Linked DNA regions of Homo sapiens: region 2 is linked to region 1. The links are contacts of gene promoters, found by promoter capture Hi-C in human tissues and cell types (Jung and others, 2019). All regions are on one chromosome and are shown on one strand. Each heading gives the region's core, a stretch centred on a gene start or on the middle of the fragment in contact. The rest is flanking DNA. Distances are from core to core; before and after follow the strand shown. Region 1 holds the start of COA3 (cytochrome c oxidase assembly factor 3). Region 2 holds the start of TUBG2 (tubulin gamma 2).

Evidence for each region. Contacts are between HindIII fragments. The study calls those that stand out against the background at their distance.
Region 2: a contact is called between the fragment with the promoter of TUBG2 here and the fragment with the promoter of COA3 in region 1, in 3 of the 25 tissues and cell types used here (mesenchymal stem cells, neural progenitor cells and small bowel).

What each region holds. Positions count from the first base shown.
Region 1 is chr17:42,796,551-42,801,244 of GRCh38, reverse strand. It overlaps COA3 (cytochrome c oxidase assembly factor 3), which reads left to right and starts at 2,541. Exons shown (of 2, transcript NM_001040431.3): 1 at 2,541-2,777; 2 at 3,078-3,620. The coding sequence starts at 2,564. The coding sequence ends at 3,184. It overlaps CNTD1 (cyclin N-terminal domain containing 1), which reads right to left and starts at 2,384. Exons shown (of 7, transcript NM_173478.3): 1 at 2,009-2,384. The coding sequence starts at 2,177. It overlaps WNK4 (WNK lysine deficient protein kinase 4), which reads right to left. Exons shown (of 19, transcript NM_032387.5): 18 at 4,667-4,694; 19 at 4,179-4,559. The coding sequence ends at 4,557. RefSeq lists enhancers at 2,529-2,578, 2,599-2,648, 2,789-2,858. The HindIII fragment of the contact is 12,523 bases long and covers 1-4,694 here.
Region 2 is chr17:42,656,896-42,661,589 of GRCh38, reverse strand. TUBG2 (tubulin gamma 2) reads right to left here and starts at 2,306. Exons shown (of 11, transcript NM_016437.3): 1 at 2,038-2,306; 2 at 1,644-1,756; 3 at 1,274-1,441; 4 at 883-951. The coding sequence starts at 2,086. RefSeq lists enhancers at 2,090-2,159, 2,210-2,279, 2,290-2,349, 1,707-2,474. The HindIII fragment of the contact is 23,957 bases long and covers 157-4,694 here.

The DNA of each region.
Region 1 (4,694 bases), core at 1,292-3,791:
ATGTAGTGTGTCTGTGTTTTTTGTGTTGTTTTTTTTTGTTGTTGTTTTTTTTTTTTTTGGGAGACAGAGTCTTGCTCTGTGGCCTAGGCTGGAGCGCAGTGGCACAATCTTGGCTCACTGCAACCTCCGCCTCCCAGGTTCAAGCCATTCCCCTGCCTCGGCCTCCCGAGTAGCTGGGACTACAGGTGCCTGCCACCATGCCCAGCTAATTTTTGTGTTTTTAATAGAGACAGGGTTTCACTATGTTGGCCAGGCTGGTCTCGAACCCCTGACCTCGTGATCCACCCGCCTCAGCCTCTCAAAGTGTTGGGAATACAGGCGTGAGCCACCGTGCCCGGCCGTGTCTGTGTGTTTCTTTTAATGACCACTATACTTCCAGTCTTCCAGGCTCAACCGTTTAGCATAGTCACGTTTTCCTCCTTCACTTCCTAAATTTATCCACAGCAGAACCCTAGACTTTGCCTCTAGAATGTTTTTAATCCACCCTCCCTTGTTATTCCCTCTGCCCTATCACCTAGCCTACTGACATTGACTCTACCTGTCTGCCTACATCCCATCTCCCTCTGGTTTAATCCATCCTTTACCTCCTTTACATCACTGCCAAAATAATGTTTACTAAGGCAGGGTTACCATCGTATCCCTTATTTTAAAACCTTCACTCCCTTATTTAAAAACCTTCAATGTCTTCTTGGTTTCCTACCAAACCAAGGATAAACTCTTCCCCTTGGCATTCAAACTTCCACATGGAATGTCTCCAAACTACCTTTCCAGTATTAATTTCAACTATTCTTCCACATGCACTGGCCAACATGGACTACACTGTACCCACATGCACCCTAAGCACCCCATTTCCATAGCTTTACTCATGCTACCTCTTTTTGGTAGAAACACTGTCTCCTTCCTCCCCCTTCACCAACCCAATGTCCTCCTTCCTTCAAGGTCTGCCTGAAATGTCCCGATGCCTGGGCCATCCCCTGAATTCTTCCTATTACCCCATCGCTCCTCTCAACCCCCATAAACGCTTGTTTTATTTCTCTCTGACGTCTCTTATCTAACCATAGTACCTAGTCATTGCATATTTGTTCTAATATCTCCCCCAAATTGCACATGGTTTGAAGGCAAGACCTCTATCTCTATTTCATCTTTCTTTTCTCTTTTTTTTTTTTTTTTTTTTTAGACAGAGTCTCGCTCTGTCACCCGTCACTCAGGCTGGAGTGTAGTGGCGCCATCTCAGCTCACTGCAAGCTCCGCCTCCCGGGTTCATGCCATTCTCCTCCCTCAGCCTCCGGAGTAGCTGGGACTACAGGCGCCCGCCACCACACCCGGCTTTTTTTTGTATTTTTAGTAGAGACGGGGTTTCACCATGTTAGCCAGGATGGTCTCGATCTCCTGACCTCGTGATCTGCCCGCCTCAGCCTCCCAAAATGCTGGGATTACAGGCGTGAGCCACCGCGCCCAGCCTTTTTTTTTTTTTTTTTTTTTTTTTTTTTTTGAGACGGAGTTTCATTCTTGTCGTCTAGGCTGAAGTGCAATGGCACGATTTCGGCTCACTGCAACTTCCGCCTCCTGGGTTCAAACAGTTCTCCTGTCTCAACCTCCCGAGTAGCTGGGATTAGAGGTGCGCGCCACCAGTCCTGGCTAATTTTTGTACTTTTAGTAGAGACAGGATTTCACCATGTTGGTCAGGCTGGTCTCGAACTCCTGACCTCAGGTGAACCTCCCACCTCAGCCTCCCAAAGTGCTGGGATTACAGGTGTAAGCCACCATGCCTGGCCCTCTATTTCATCTTTCTAGCCAAGCGGTGCCACTCAAGTATTCCATACATGTCGAAGAAATCAAGGGGAGGGCACTGTTGTGACTTATCCATCACTATATCCCCAGCACCCCACAGAGAGGTGTTAGCAAACATTCTCTGAATGAATAAAATCAACGGAATCTCAAGGTCGGTGCCTGAAAGACACAAGCCCCAGTCTCCCAAGAACCCAGCACCCCGGCCCTGCAGCCGCACCCACGATCTGGGGCTCCCTGAAGCGGCCCAGCCGCCCCGAAGCCTCCCTCACTGCTTGCTCATTCTGCTGGGCCAAGTGAAGCAGGGCGTCTTCAATCGTCTCTGTGGCGACAACTCCAAACTGAAAGTCAACGAGGGAGGCCGATCGTGGCCTCATGGGTCCGTCCATATTCACGAGCCTCTTGGGGCACCTGGACGGGTTCACTGGATCCACATACCGACCCCCTTAGCTCCTCTCCAGTCTTCTGCCACACCCTGGATTCCTCGTCCCCTTCCAATGAGTGTGTCGTCGCCTCAAGTCTGAGGAAAACCCAATTACCACCACAGCCTCGAACCCTCCACAGCTTTTTCCCGCCCCAACGGCCACGGACTCCTCAGCCAATCAGAAAGCACGTCCGCTTCTCACCTCCCGCGTCCATCCCCTGTGCCCGGGAACCGCGGCTCTGCCCCGCAAAGGGCACGCGGACTACAACTCCCAGAGTCCACTGCAGCGGCCAAGGGCTACTGTTCCCAGCGAGGCCCGCGCGGCGGCACCGCGAAGGGAGGAGTGGCAACATGGCGTCTTCGGGAGCTGGTGACCCTCTGGATTCTAAGCGTGGAGAGGCCCCGTTCGCTCAGCGTATCGACCCGACTCGGGAGAAGCTGACACCCGAGCAACTGCATTCCATGCGGCAGGCGGAGCTTGCCCAGTGGCAGAAGGTCCTACCACGGCGGCGAACCCGGAACATCGTGACCGGCCTAGGCATCGGGGCCCTGGTGTTGGCTATTTGTATCCGTCCGTGTTGTAGACTCAAGGGGACCGCATATAGGGGCAGGGGAACAGAGTGTGCAAGAGGGCTGAACCACCCGTTTAATTTTGGGGTAAAATGGGTAGTACTTTCCTTTGTTATTCCTAAGGTACTCTTTTAATTTGATTTATTAATAATAACGGAATTGGGGTTCAGGGTTTAGAAACAGCAGCGGCGGGAAGCCGGAATCACTGATTTGGGAGAGTAACAAGAGTGGTAGAGCAAATCTAGGAAAGGGGAATGTGCATATTCTGTGTGGTTTCCTGAACCTACCTCCCCAGATGGTTACACCTTCTACTCGATTTCCCAGGAGCGTTTCCTAGATGAGCTAGAAGACGAGGCCAAAGCTGCCCGAGCCCGAGCTCTGGCAAGGGCGTCAGGGTCCTAATCTGGATGGGTATTGATCATGTCCAACCTGCTGGAGCCCCTTCACATGGTGGATGATGCCCCATGACCCTGTAGAAATTGAATCCTGCTCACAACATTGTTGGCCTTCTTACTAACCTTGGACCGTGATTGAGCCCAAGAAACCAGGGACTTACGCATTTGGCCAATGTCAAAAGAACAGAACTTTGCCCACTGCACACTTGCTGTGTACAATGACTGAGCCCTTTCTTGTAGTTTGTTTCCTTGTTTGAGAGGTGTGCATGCGACCGTGGCTTTTCCCAAAGTTTCTGACTTTGTGGTTTACCCCCTTCACCTTCCAGGGACGCAGTTGTTACGAGGTTAGACGTGGCAGCTCTGTGCAGTGTTTGAGCCTACAGTGGGATACATAGGGTCAAATTGAGAATAATAAACTGAGTCATTCTCCTGGAGTCAAGTGAGTATGGAGGCTGAGAGGCAGCATATGGCACTTCATGCTGGAAAGCTTCACAAGCAGTAGCTGCAGTGGTGGCATTGCCCCAGGGAGCTGTAAATGTTTAACTAGAATTACTTTTTCCATGAGATCTTTCCACCTGATTTAAGGGAGAGATCACTGGGCAGTTTGAGACTGAACCCACGTCTTAGGGGAAGGAAGGTCACTCTTCTGTCCTCTACCCACAAGAACATACTGTAACTCTACTGCTTTTCCCATCCCCAGAGAGAGGGAGGGAGAGAGAGGTGGATGAAGGGTGAAAGACAAGCAGTCTTCATTCTTTTAACTTTCCCTGGTACCTGCCTATACAGGTCTAGGGTGGGGTCTGGAGGGGATCCTAACTTAGTCAAGTGGATCACTGACCTTGCAGTTTCCTCATTAACTGATGGCAGGAAGCCAGAGGGCTGGGCAGCTTCCACCCCTGCCTCCCATTGTGAAAAGAAAGTCCCTTTTAAATCCTCCCCTGCCTCACCCCACAAGTCTTTGCTCCCCCAATTCCTAAGGCATGGCATATGGATTCACGGCGTTCTTGTTTCCAGCATTTTTATTGGTTGCTGCTAATGTGGTGTGAGCATATCCCCTACACTCTCCCAGCTGGGAGTGGGCCCCTCTAGAAGCATCCAGGCTTGGGTGGGATTGCTTAGTGGTTGACTCTTGGCAGGGGAGGTGCTAGAGATGAAGATGGTAGGCAGCAGAACTAACACCTCCACACAGCAAACAGTTCACATATGTTTGGCTCTTCACTATAATGGAGCTGCACTCTCCATGCCCCCCTGGCCTTCTACCCCTTCAGTGTTGGGATCTTCCTTGCTCAGTTTTGTTGATCAGAAAGCATCAGATTCTGAGAACACAAGCTCCATGGTGGGCCCTGGTGTGGGGGAGATACATGGCTTCTGTTCTGAATTCACTGGAGGGAAAAGAAAAAGTGATGAAGAAACCTCCAAGGTGGGAGGAAGGCGAAGCTGCAGCCAGGTACCATTCCCTGGGCTCTCCCTCCCTTGGGCCCGCCCTCACCATCCTGCCAACATCCCCGGCGAATGTC
Region 2 (4,694 bases), core at 1,057-3,556, 140 kb after region 1:
CCCCCAAACTCAGTCCTTTTGGATTTTTATGGAGGCTTCATTACACAGGCATGACCGATTAAATCATTGGCAATTGGTGCTCTACTCAATCTTCATCCCCTCTCCCTTCCCCAGAGGTGAGGGGTGGGCCTGTAAATTCCAACCCTCAGAGCACCAGGTTTGTTCCCCTGGCAACCAGCCCCCCATCCAGTGGCTATCTGGGACTTTCCAAAAATCGCCTCTTTAACATAAGCTCAGGTTTGGTTGAAAGGCACTTGTTCCTCCTTAGTACAGTGGTTAGTAAAATTAACTAATTAAAATAAAATGAAAGATTAAACTAAAAGAAACGGGCTTGTTATAAATAACAAAAGACTGTCTTTCACCTTTATCACTCTGGAGCTGTTCTGGAGCTGTTTCAGAAACCAAGGACAAAAGGTCAAATATTTTAACAAAACATACTATTATTGCTCTAGTCCCTTAGGAAATTACATGGGTTATAAGAGCTGTAAGCCAGGAACATATCGCACCCAGCATGGGGAGAGATGGAGAGGCAGTCTCCAAGGATCTGGGGGAGAGACTTCGGCTTGGTTCATTCTCCATTCCCAAAACGCCAATGTCTCAAAGCTTCCTCTTATGCATCCAGGCTGAGGCTCCTTGGGAAGGTTTGGAGCTGGAGAAGCAGCTGAATGACTCATGCCTAAGGGGCCGGTGCCATTCAGATTTATGACTTCCTTGAGAACAAAGATTATATCTTATTCACCTCAATATCCCACATCTGATGCTCCATAAACGGGTTTTGAATTGAATTGCTCCCCTCATATTACCTATCCAGGCCACCTCCTGACCTGTCCCCAGCACTCTTCGGCCTCCCTGCCCATTCCTTCCCCCACTCCATAACTTCACCTCCAAACTGTCACTTCCATCTGCTTCTCGGTCTATGATGTCAAAGATGTCTTCATGAATTTTCTCACCCTGTATAGAGATATGGAAAGGGAGGGTCAGGCCAAAGGTTCCAGAGAGCATCTTTTCTCAGCACAGCACCAAGAATTCTGTCTACCCTGGAATATTGTTGCCACCCTGAAGCAGAGCCTAGGCTGTAGCCCTCAACCCAGAAGTGCTACTATTGCAAATGATTTGCACAAAATTTGCATAAACCTCTCCCTGGCTGTCCCTCTTGTTCGGGACATCCTTTTGTCTCTTATTTTCTGTCAGTCAGGTCAAATTCCTAGTAGCTTGAGCCTGCCTTGCCTCTGGATGGGAATATCAAAGGTCTCTGGAATGGTCGCTAGGACACCTGGGAGAATCCGCTGGCCCAGTTGTTGCCAGCTCCTCCTCCATGTTCCGACAGGTAGATGTTCTCTGGGTTGTAGAGCTTGGCATAGGGGGAGTTGAGGATGGAGTGGATCACCCGGGGTTCCAAGTCCAGCAGCACGGCCCGGGGGATGTAGTGCTCATCGTCTGCCTGTCAAGGGGAGTCCAGGAGGGGGCCCAATCAGCTAGGGCGGCCCAAGTCCGAAGTCCTCCCAACTCTGGCTCCCTCCGGCCCTCCCTCCTCAAGCCAGCCGCCTGGCCCTACTGCCCAGCGGGGTTCCCAGTACCAGGCCACTCCCTTCCCTTCCGCCCCCTTGGGCCACTGCCGCCCCCGGCCAAGTCGCTGGGGGCACCTGGTAGAAAAAGACGTCCTTGCGGTCAGTGCCCTCGGTGGCGAATTCCTCCACGATGCCCTCGGGGCTGATACCATGCTCGGCGCACAGCTGTTTCCAGAACTCGAACCCAACTGGGGGAGGGGGGAGATGCCCGGGTCTGCTGGAGCCTTAAGGCCTGAGGAGCCCAGTTTTAGTCTCAGAGGCTGACACGATCAGAGGGTGGACCCAAGATGCCTGGGTTTGGTAGCTGCCCCAGCCCCGGGCTGGAGGCGCAGCTCTCGGTCTGGGTTATCCAGAGCAGCAGGGCAGGGGGTTCATGGAAGGGAAAGGGGGACTGGTGGAAGCCAGGCACTTGGGTGGGACCCGAAGGGGCAGAACCAGAGACCGGCGGGGCCGGCGCTCGCTTGCTCACTCTGGTTGCCGCACTGGCCCAGCTGCAGGGTGATGATCTCCCGGGGCATCGCTCTTCAGACGTGGGCGCGCCAGCCCCGGCCTGGCGAGAGTCACGGCTGAGACGAATGCCCGGCAGCCAGGAGCGCAGGACGTGGGGAGCGCGCGCTCTCTTCGCCTCTTGACGCGGATGCTCGGTCTGCGCGTGTGCAGCGCAGGCCTCTCCTCGGCCGGTGGGCCGGGGAGCCCAACCTGGGCATCATTTTCTCCCTCAGCAGTCGCAGCTGGAATTCCGCACAGGCGCAGAGTCAGGCCACGCCCGCTCCTGCCCACCGCTCCGCGCCTGCGCAGTGAGACTCGTTGGGGGTGGCAGGGTCGGAACCTGGATGTGTTGGGGAGGAGAGGAACGGGGGAGGGGAGGAAAGGGGAGAAGCGGCCAGGTGGATGTGCTTGTCCACGTGTAAGGAGTCATCTACCTATATTGGTAGGTGAGGACACTGTCAGCTTTGCTAGATCAAAGGGCTAGAAGCCAACTTTTCTTCGTTTAAATTTCTGTTTTTTAATGGTGTTACAATACATACACATGTATGTTACCTTTTTATTTTTTAGAAGGGTCTCGCTCTGTCGCCCAGGCTGGAGTGCAGTGGCGCGATCATAGCTCACTGTAGCCTTGAACTTCTGGCTTAAGTGATCCTCCCACTTCAGTCTCCCGAGTAGCTGGGACTACAGGCGTGTGCTACCACGCCCAGCTAATTTTTAAATTTTTAAAATGTATTTTTATAGAGATGGGGATCTCACCGTGTTGCCCAAGATGGTCTTAAACTACTGGCCTCAATCAATCCTCCTGCCTTGGCCTCCCAAAATGCTGGGATTACAGGCATGAGCCACCACTCCTGGCCTAAATTTACCATTGTAACCATTTGTAAGTACTGCATACAGTTCTGTGGCACCAAGTACACTCACATTGTTCTGTAACCACCACCACCATTCTTTTCTAGAACTTTCTTATCTTCCCAAACTGAAACTCTATCGCGATTAAACAGTAACTTCCCCTTGACTACTCTAGGCACCTGATATGAGTGGAATTATACAGTATTTGTCTTTTTGGGTCTGGCTTCTTTCACTTAACATAATATCTTCAAGATCCTTCCATTTCGTAGCATGTGTCAGAATTTCCTTCCTTTTTACAACTGAATAATATTCCATTGTATAGATGTACCACATTTTGCATAACCATTCATCCCTCCATGGACATTTGGGTTGCTTCCACCTTTTGGCTATTGTGAATGTTGCTGCTTTGAATGTGAGTGTACAAATATCTGTTCGAGTCCCTGCTTTCAATTATTTTGGATATACACCCAGAGGTAGAATTGCTGGATCATATGGTAATTGTGTTTAATGTTCTGAGGAATCGCCATACGATTTTCCATGGTAGCTGCACCATTTTAAATTCCCACCAGCAATGCACAAGGGTTCAGTTAAATAAATTTTATAGGAGGCCATTGATTTGCACTGAGCTCCTGTGCTTGGCTCAACAGACCAAACCAAAATGGAGTCACTCACGCTAAAGTTCTATGTCACTAAGCAACACTAAGTTGTTTATCAAACCTTCAGAGGAATCAGGAGAGGGAAGGAAGAGCCAAAACCCCAAACAAGCCAGTGTGAGCCGGCATGATACGGAAGTCCTTTTACAAGAAAAGTAACTTTGAAAGGACCCATCTGCTTTTTTTCCTTCTGTTTCTATTTTTCTCTACCCTTTTTTGTCCATAAAAACTAACCTGTGCTTGACTCATCTGAACACTCATTCTATTTATTTTATGGAATGAAACGTAGCCTGATCTAGAATCACAAACACTGTAAATGCCACTTAAGATTTTTTTTTTTTTTTGAGACTAAGTCTCACTCTGTTGCCCAGGTTGGAGTGCAGTGGCATGATCTCGGCTCACTACAACCTCTGCCTCTCTCAGGTTCAAGCGATTCTCCTGGCTCAGCCTCCCTAGTAGCTGAGATTACAGGTGTGCACCACCACACCCGGCTAATTTTTTTGTATTTTCAGTAGAGACAGGGGTTTTGTCATGTTGCCCGGACTGGTCTCGAACCCCTGAGCTCAGGTAATCCACCTGCCTCAGCCTCCCAAAGTGCTGGGTTACAGGCATGAGCCACCATGCTCAGCCAAGTAGCCAAGTTACAATCTTTTTTTTTTTTTTTTTTTAGATGGAGTTTCGCTCTCGTTGCCCAGGCTGGAGTGCAATGGCTCGATCTCAACTCACCGCAAGCTCCACCTCCCGGGTTCAAGCGATTCTCCTGCCTCAGCCTCCCAAGTAGCTAGGATTACAGGCATGCACCATCACGCCCAGCTAATTTTGTATTTTTAGTAGAGACGGGGTTTCTCCATGTTGGTCGACCTCATGTGATCCACCTGCCTTGGCCTCCCAAAGTGCTGTGGGATTACAGGCGTGAGCCACCACGCCCAGCCTTTTTTTTTTTTTTTTTTTTTTGAGACGTAGTCGCACTCTGTAGCCCAGGCTGGAGTGCAATGGCTTGATCTCAGCTCAGTGCAACCTCTGCCTCCCAGGTTCAAGCAATTCTCCTGCTTCAGCTTCCCAAGTACCTGGGATTATAGGCACGCTCCACCATACCCTGCTAATTTTTGTATTTTTAGTAGAGACGGGGTTTCAT